Regions from separate parts of the Homo sapiens genome. Here region 2 is linked to region 1. Evidence: promoter capture Hi-C in human tissues and cell types (Jung and others, 2019). All regions are on one chromosome and are shown on one strand. The core of a region is centred on a gene start or on the middle of the fragment in contact, and the rest is flanking DNA. Distances in the headings are between cores, read along the strand shown.

Region 1 (4,375 bases), core at 918-3,417:
GCCACTGCACTCCAGCCTGGGCGACAGAGCGAGACTCCCTCTCAAAAAAAACAAAAAACAAAAAAGCAAAAAATTAGGTGGGTATGGTGGCACATGCCTGTAATCTCAGCTACTTGGGAGGCTGGGGTGGGAGGCTGAGGTAGTCCCAGCTACTTGGGAGGCTTGAGCCCAGGAGGTCGAGGCTACAGTGAGTGAGTTGTGATCACACCACTGCACTCCAGCCGGGGTGACAGAGTGAGACCCTGTCTCAAAGAAAAAGAAGACCATACTGTGTGCCACTGTGCCCTGGCACTAAAAATACTTTACAAAATAAGGAAATATAGTCTCTGATAAAGCGATTTAGTGGTAGAGAAAAACAATAAGCAAAAAAATACATATAACTTGAGTATTGTGATGGAAAAGTATACTGACAAATAAATGGGGGCGGAATAGAGGCAAATCTACTTTAGGTAGATAAGAGTGGTCAGGGAAGAACTTTCTGGGGAGACGACATTTAAATTAAGAACTGAAGTACAAGAGCCAACCACGAAAAGACAAAGATAGAGGATGGGAATGCGGGGAAATCCATCCAGGCAGTGGGAAGGGCAAAAGGCCTAAAAGCAATGAAAGAGAAAGTAAAGGCAGATCTGGAAGAGCATAATAAAAAAGGGGAATGACTCAAGAAGGTCTTGTCATATCAGACAGAAAGAATATTGGATTCGATTCCAAGCTCAATGGTAAACCACTGAAGGGCTTTAAACTAGGGAATGACATAATTCAAGACACCCATTCTGGGCTGGGCGCAGCAGCTCACGCCTGTAATCCCAGCACTTTGGGAGGGCGAGGTGGGCAGATCACTGGAGGTCTGGGGTTCGAGACCAGCCTGGCCAACATGGCAAAACCAAGTCTCTACTAAAAATACAAAAATTAGTTGGGCGTGGTGACGGGCGCTTGTATCCCAGCTACTCAGGAGGCTGAGGCAAGAGAATCACTTAAACCCAGGAGGCGGAGGCTGCAGTGAGCTGAGATCTCGCCACTGCACTCCAACCTGAACAACAGAAGGTGACTCCATCTCAAAAAAAAAAAAAGATATTCACTCTGATATGAAATGGCAACTAAGGAAGGCTGTCCGACTGATTTCAGGTGTGCTCTATTCCAGCCCACTCTGGCCAACTCTAAGGCCAGAGCTCAGATGTAGCAGGTGCTTGCTTTTCTAGATGCAAGGAGACTGGGGGTAGCCTGCAGGGTCCCCCTCTGGGGGTCAAGGTCTGGCTGGTTCTGCCAGATTTAACCTCTCTGGGCCTCAGATTCTTCAGGCAGAGGACTGACAATACTTCAAAGGGTCAAGGAAACGGGCGAATGCACGGAAGAGTTGAGGCACAGAAAAGTCTTCAAGCTTATAAGGAGCCTGTTGGGGGTCAGCTAGATCTCTCTAGTCCGCAGAGGGGACCGTCCCTCTGCCCGAGGCGGCGGAGCTTCCCCTGCCGGGTCCAGATACCCCAAGGCAGTTTCCAATCGCCCCCGTCCCCAGGAAGGTCGGTGATGGGGAGTGAAGAAGTAAGCGGCTTCTCAAATAATAGCAGTTGCCAAACGCTTACCGGGAAAATCTTTTAATCCCGACTACAATCCTAAGAGGTGAAAGTCTTGGTCCCCACTTTAGAGGCTACGAAAGCGGAAGGCCACCTGAGTTTTCCACAGCACCAGCGGGTCGGAGTGCGAGCTCGGACTCGGGTCCTTCGGCTTCGAGGCCGCATTAGGCCACTCGCGACCCCCCACGCCGGCAGCTCGAGGCTCGGACTCTAGGCCCAGGCCGGCACTGAGCCCAGCTCCGCCCGGGACGCGGTGGTCACAGCGGCGCTGCGAACGACGCCCGCTTCCCGGCTCACCAGACCAACCTAGGCCGCGAAGGGGGCGGCGTCGCCGGGGGCTGCCAAGGCGCCGGTTCCCTGAGGAGAAAGCGCGGCCTCCTCCAGGTGCCTGAGATGCCGCCGCGCGGGCATCCTCTCCTCACAGCCGCGACCCCGGGCCCAGAGACCCCTCGCCCACACACCCCTCCCTTGGGATGCTGGACCCTTCCTAAACTGGAGGCCACAGGGGATCTCCAGCCGCGTGCCGCCGCTACACCTCACCAGGGACGAGAGGAGAAACGCTGAGTTGACACACTAGCTGCAGACACGGAGCCTCCTCTGTCAGACCCCGCACTGAACAACGGCCCTCAGAGCTGCCTCACCACTTCCGCCCATCGCGGAGGAGCGCGCCCATTGGCCAGGGGCGGCTCCAGCTGTCGGCCCATTGGATAACACCGTTGTCGCTCCCAGGGCCCCGCCTTCTGCGCGTCGATTGGCTCCCTGGAGGCCCACGGGGGCGTGTCCCTGGAAGCCCTGGCCCCTGCACATCTGGAACCAGAGGCACGAAGCTGAGCTGTGAGCCTGTTGCTGAGTTTAGCAACTGTCCCCGACACAGGCTAATAATATTTGCATGAATAATTCTGTACAAACATTACTAATATGCTTAATATATTGAGATAATTAATGGTATTTGTTCTTTTCTCATGGGCCGTTAATACTTATTAGTCATTCTTATTGCTATGATAATGCCCTTGTGCAAGACTTCTGCAGATCTGTGACCATATTTTTTGAGCACTTTGCTTTTTTGCAGTGGAAGAATGAGAGCCTGAGATGCAGGTTTGAGAGCTAGTTTCTCCACTTGCTGCCTGAATGGATTCCCTGAGCTTCTCTTACCTCATGTATAATAAAGGAGAGAATAATTATATAAGTATAACCAAGCACATATTACAAACCAACTTATAATTATATAAGTATAACCAAGCACATATTACAAACAATACAGCAATTTAAAATTATGATTCCATTGCAGATTATAATTGCAAAATATGGAGGCCAAGGCGGGTGGATCTCTTGAGCTCAGGAATTAGAGACCAGCCTGGGCAATATAATGAAACCATATCTCTACAAAAAAAATACAAAAATTAGCCAGGCGTGGTGGCACGCACCTGTAGTTCCACCTCCTTGGGAGGCTGAGGTGGAAGGATCCCTCGAGCCCAGGAGGCAGGGCTGGAGTGAGCCCTGATCATGCTACCGCACTCCAGCCTGGGGGACAGAGAAAGACCCCGTCTCAAAAATAATATAATATAATATAATATAATATAATATAATATAATATAATATAATTGCAAAATGTTAATGAGATAGTACTAAGCAAGAAAAGCATCTAACAGGCTGGGCGCGGTGGCTCACGCCTGTAATGCCAACACTTTGGGAGGCAGAGGCTGGTGGATCACCTGAGGTCAGGAGTTCAAGACCAGCCTGGCCAACATGGTGAAACACCGTTTCTACTAAAAATACAAAAATTAGCTGGCCGTGGTGGCAGGCGCCTATGATCCCAGCTACTTGGGAGGCTGAGACAGGAGAATCGCTTGAACCCAGGAGGTGAAGGTTGCAGTGAGCCGAGATTGAGCCACTGCACTCCAGCCTGGGCAACAAAATCAAAACTCCGTCTCAAAGCAATATTTATAACAAGATAAAATATTTAGCTTAAATATGCAATATAACTTGTGTGATTCCAAACATATAAAGTTTAAAACCAGGGAAAATTAACCTAAAGTGAGAGAAGTAAGTAACTGGTTCCATTCAGAGGGTATATAGCCTGTAAGGAGATATGAGAAAGATTTTCTAGAAATGTTTATATCTTGATCAGCAAAGTGATTAACACAGATGGATTAATTAGTAAATAGTTATTAAGCTACACACCTATATCTTAAGCACTTTACATTGTATGTTACATTTTAATAACAAAACTTACTGGAGTTCAAAAGAAAGCACAATCATTAACAGTTAAAAAGCAATCAGAAAAAATGTGTATTAATATGAATTAAGTATATTAATGTATTAAGTATATATAAAGAAAAAAGATAACCATATAGTGTGTTCTTTTATGAATAAGGTGTTTTAACTCAGCATAATGTTTTTGAGGTTTATCCATGCTGTTGATAATATCAAGTCTATTCCTTTTCAGTGCCAAGTAGCATAGCACATGGATATGCCACAATTTATACTGACAAACATTAGAGCTGGTTCTAGTTTTTGGCCAGGCATGGTGGCTCACGCCCACAATCCCAGCACTTCGGCAGGTCAAGGTGGGTGGATCGCCTGAGCTCAGGAGTTCCAGACCAGCCTGGGCAACATAACAAAACCCTGTCTCTACAAAAAATACAAAAATGTAGCCAGGCGTGGTGGCTCATGCGTGTAGTCCCAGCTACTTGGGAGGCTAAGGTGAGAAGATTGCTTGAGCCTGGGAGGCAGAGGTTTCAGCGAGCTGATATGGCACCACTGCACTCCAGCCTGGGTGACAGAGCAAGACTCCATCTCAAAAAAAA
Region 2 (4,890 bases), core at 1,355-3,854, 540 kb after region 1:
ATTTATTTATTTTGAGACAGAGTCTCACTCTGTCACCCAGTCTGGAAAGCAGTGGCATAATCTCGGCTCACTGTAACCTCCACTTCCCAGGTTCCAGTGATTCTCCTGCCTCAGCCTCCTGAGTAGCTGGGATTACAGGCATGCACCACTACACCTGGCAAATTTTTGTATTTTTTTTTAGTAGAGATGGGGTTTCACCATGTTGGCCAGGCTCGTCTTGAACTCCTGACCTTAGGTGATCTGCCTGTCTTGGCCTCCCAAAGTTTTGGGATTACAGCATGAGCCACTGCGCCTCGCCTTATTTTTTTGAGACAGGTTCTAGCTCTGTCACCCAGGCGGGAGTGCAGTGGTGCCATCATGGCTCATTGCAACCTCGAGTTCTCAGGCCCAAGTGATCCTCCTATCTCAGCCTCCTGAGTAGCTGGGACCACAGGCATGCGCCACTATGCCCAGCAAAATTTTTGTTTCACTCTGTTGCCTAGGGTGGGGTGCAGTGGCAGGATATCGGCTCAGTGCAACCTCTGCCTCTTGCGTTCAAATGATTCTCATGCCTCAGCCTCCCGAGTAGCTGGGATTATAGGCATGCGCCACTACACCTGGCTAATTTTTGTATTATTGGTAGAGATGGGGTTTTATCATGTTGGCCAGGCTGGTCTCGAACTCCCGACCTCAGGTGATCCATATACCTTGGCCTCCTGAAGTGCTGGAATTACAGGCATAAGCCACTGCGCCTAGCTTTTTTGTTTGTTTTTATTTTGTAGGGACAGAGATTTTACCTGTTGCCCAGGATGGCCTTGAATTCCTGACCTCAAACAATTTGCCCTCCTTGGCCTCCCAAGGTGCTGGGATTACAGGTGTGAGCCACTATGCCTGGCTGGTTTTTTAAATTATTATTATTGTTTGTGTGTGTGTGTTGCAGGATCTTACCCTGTCACCCAGGCTGGAATGCAGTGATGTGATCTCGGCTTACTGCAACCTCCGCCTCCTAGGTTCAAGTGATTGTCCTGCCTCAGCCTCCTGAGTAGCTGGGATAACAGCTGTGTGCCACCATGCCTGGCTAATTTTTGTATTTTTAGTAGAGATGGGGTTTCATCATGTTGGCCAGGCTGGTCTCGAACTCCTGACCTTAGATGATCCACCCGCCTCGTCCTCCCAAAGTGCTGGGATTACAGGTGTGAGCCACCGTGACCAGTTTGGTTTAGTTTTTTTTTTTTTTTTTTTTTTTTTTTTTTTTTGAGAAATCTCGCTCTGTCGCCCAGGCTAGAGTGCGGTGACACAATCTCAGCTCACTGCAAGCTCCACCTCCCAGGTTCATGCCATTCTCCTGCCTCAGCCTCCCGAGTAGCTGGGACTACATGCGCCCGCCACCATGCCCGGCTAATTTTTTTTATGCATTTTAAGTAGAGATGGGGTTTCACTGTGTTAGCCAGGATTGTCTCAATCTCCCGACCTCTTGATCTGCCCGCCTCGGCTTCCCAAAGTGCTGGGATTATAGGCATGAGCCACCGCGTCCGGCCTGGTTTGGTATTTTTTTTATGAGTCTGGGTTGTTTATGAAAACTTGTCACAGCTGTTAACCTTAACTTTTTTTTTTTCTTTTTTTTCCGAGACGGAGTCTCGCTCTGTCACCTAGGCTGGAGTGCAGTGGTGCGATCTCGGCTCATTGCAACCTCTGCCTCCCAGGTTAAAGCGATTTTTCTGCCTCAGCCTCCTGAGTAGCTGGGACTGCAGGCACGCACCATCTCGCCTGGCTAATTTTTGTATTTTAGTAGAGATGGGGTTTCACCATATTGGCCAGGCTGGTCTGGAACTTCTGGCCTCAAGTGATCCACCTGCCTTGGCCTCCCATGCCTGGCAACCTTAACTTTTTATTTGCTGGTAATTATTTGTGTTTGCATTCATGTGAAAATTTGAAATTCTCATTAACATTTAAAGATTCTTACATAGATTGCTTGTAATTTTAACCCTGAAGTTGTGTCAAGTGACTTTACAATGTCAATTTGTTTTATTTATTTATTTATTTATTTATTTATTTATTTTTGTGATAGGATCTGGCTCTGTTGCTAAGGCTGGAGTGCAGTGTTGCAAATACGGCTCACTGCAACCTCTGTCTCCCGGGTTCAAGCCATCCTCCCACCTCAGCCTCCCAAGTAGTTGGAACTACTGGTGCGCCCCACAGTGCCTGCCTAGTTTTTTTGTATTTTCAGTAGATGTGGAGTTTTGCCATGTTGATCTTGAACTCATGGCCTCGAGTGATCCACCCCACTTAGGCCTCCTAACATGCTGGTGTTACAGGTGTGAGCCACTGTGTCCAGCCCGAAAATGTCAGTTTCGTGCCATGATTAATAGCTAACTACATTTTGGGAATGTAATAAAATTTCATTCTATAATGAAGTCTTTGTAAAACTCATTAGTTGTGGTATGAGGCTTGTCGGCAATATAAGTGAACGTGGTTTATTTTTATTAACTGTATCAGAACTTTAGAATGTTGGTCTCCTGAAACCATTGCCTTGAGAGGCTTTATTGAACAGTGTTGCCAATGATCAGTTTTTTTTTAAATTTCCTTTTTTTTGAGACTGAGTCTTACCCTGTTGGCCAGGTTGGAGTATAGTGGTATGGTCATGGCTCACTGCAGCCTCAACATCCTGGGCTCAAGCAGTCCTCCTACCTCAGTCTCCCGAGTAGCTGGAACTACAGGTGTATGCCACCATGCCTGGCTTTTGTATATTTTGTAGAGACAGGGTTTAGCCATGTTGCCCAGGCTGGTCTCAAACTCTTAAATTCAAATGATCCACCCACCTAGTTTTCCCAAAGTGCTTTAATTACATGTGTGAGGCACCGTGGCTGGCCAGGTCAAATATTTTTCATTGACGTTTTTCATATTGCTTTTTAAAGTCATGTTAAAATATTCTTAATAATTTTTCTAAGTGGAATTAATCTTGATTATAATTTTAGTTTTTTATAAAGGGCGGGTTTTGAAACAAGTACTGCATTTTTCTTTTCGGGTTTATAAACATTTGCTGTGGACTTTGTGCAGTTAACTATTTTCATTCCTGAAACACATTTCGAAATCAGGAATTGAAGACTAAATGTCTTTTCACTGAAGCTTGAGCAGATTTTAGAAAGGGGAGTTCTTTTTTTTTTTTTTTTTTTTGGTAGAAATGGGGGTCTTGTTATGTTGCCCAGGCTGGCCTCCAACTTCTGGGCTTAAACTGTCCTCCTGCTTTAGCCTCTGGTCTGGAGAGTTCTTTATGGCCTCTTTGAGAACTTTTACTTTACACATGATTCTATCTAGCTTTCTTTTCTGATGTACATATTGGCAGCAAGTAGAAAAGCAATGTTTTCAGAGGCAGATATATTAACAGCAATGAGAAATAACAGTAGCGTGATAGAAAGTTGAAAGACTTAGCTGGGTGCGGTGGCTCACGCTTGTAATCCCAGCACTTTGGGAGGCCAAGGAGGGTGGATCACTTGAGGTCAGGAGTTCGAGACCAGTCTGGCCAACATGGTGAAACCCTGTCTCTACTGAAAAACAGAAAAAGGGCCGGGCGTGGTGGCTCACCCCTGTAATCCCAGCACTTTGGGAGGTTGAGGAGGGCGGATTACAAGGTCAAGAGATTGAGACCATTCTGGCCAACAGGGTGAAACCCCATCTCTACTAAAAATACAAAAAAATTAAATGGGCGTGGTGATGTGTGCCTGTAGTCCCAGCTACTCGGGAGGCTGAGGCAGGAGAATTGCTTGAACCCGGGAGGCAGAGGTTGCAGTGAGCCGAGATCGGGCCACTGCACTGACGACAGAGGGAGACTCCGTCTAAAAAAAAAAAAAAAAAAAAAAAACCAGACTTGGGGCTGGGCGGGCGCCTGTAATCCCAGCTACTTGGGAGGCTGAGGCAGGAGAATCGCTTGAACCCGGGAGGTGAAGGTTGCAGTGAGCTCAGATTGTGCCACTGTGCCCCAGCCTGGGCCACAGAGCAGAGTGAGACTCTGTCTCAAAAAAAAAAAAAAAGTTTGGAAGACTGGTGGCTGGGCATGGTGGCTCACACCTGTAATCCCAACACTTTGGGAGGCTGAAGCAGGCAGATTACCTGAGCCCAGGAGTTCAAGTCCAGCCTGGGCAACACAGGGAAACCCCATCTCAACAAAAAATATTAATACAAAAAATTTAGCCAGTCATGGTCGTGCACTTCTGTAGTCTCAGCTACTTGGGAGGCTGAGGCAGGTGGTTCACTTAAGTCTGGATGTCGAGGTGAGCCATGATTGCACCACTGCACTCCAGCCTGGGCGTTAAAATGAGACCTTATCTCAAAAAAACAAAGCAAAGAGCCTGGGAACTACTAAAATGGGAACTACTAAAAAACAGACACAAGAGCTCAACAAGTATACCATTCTGGGAGGTTTTTTTTTTTTTTTTTTTTTTTTTTTTTGAGATGGAGTTTTGCTCTTGTCACCCAGGCTGGAGTGCAATGGCGCCATCTCTGCTCACTGTAGTTCCGCCTCCCAGGTTCAAGCAGTTCTCCTGCCTGACTCCTGAGTAGCTGGGAGTACAGATATTGGTCACACACCGGGTTAATTTTTGTATTTTTAGTAGAGACGGGGTTTCCCCATTTTGGCCAGGCTGGTCTCGAACTCCTGACCTCAGGTGATCCGCCTGCTTCAGCCTCCCAAAGTGCCGGGACCACAGGCGTGAGCCACCGCACCTGGCTTTTTTTTTTTGACATAGAATCTTGTTCTGTTGCCCAGGCTGGAGTGCAATGGTACAATCTTGGCCCACTGCAACCTCTGCCTCCCAGCTTCTAGCGATTTTCCTGCCTCTGACTCCTGAGTAGCTGGGATTACGGGTGCCCGCCACCACACCCGGATAATTTTTGTATTTTTAGTAGAGATGGGGT

The links. The method cuts DNA at HindIII sites, captures the fragments that hold promoters and counts their contacts. A contact is called where the count stands out against the background at its distance.
Region 2: a contact is called between a fragment that was not itself captured here and the fragment with the promoter of TRAFD1 in region 1, in 1 of the 25 tissues and cell types used here (H1 embryonic stem cells).

Annotation. Positions count from the first base shown.
Region 1 is chr12:112,123,352-112,127,726 of GRCh38, reverse strand. TRAFD1 (TRAF-type zinc finger domain containing 1) reads right to left here and starts at 2,167. Exons shown (of 12, transcript NM_006700.3): 1 at 2,109-2,167. RefSeq lists enhancers at 1,641-1,710, 2,121-2,170, 2,148-2,442. The HindIII fragment of the contact is 10,449 bases long and covers 1-4,375 here.
Region 2 is chr12:111,585,337-111,590,226 of GRCh38, reverse strand. All of the region lies in intron 1 of ATXN2 (ataxin 2), which reads left to right. Among named protein-coding and RNA genes, the nearest start is that of ATXN2, 12 kb to the left of the region's middle. The HindIII fragment of the contact is 3,592 bases long and covers 809-4,400 here.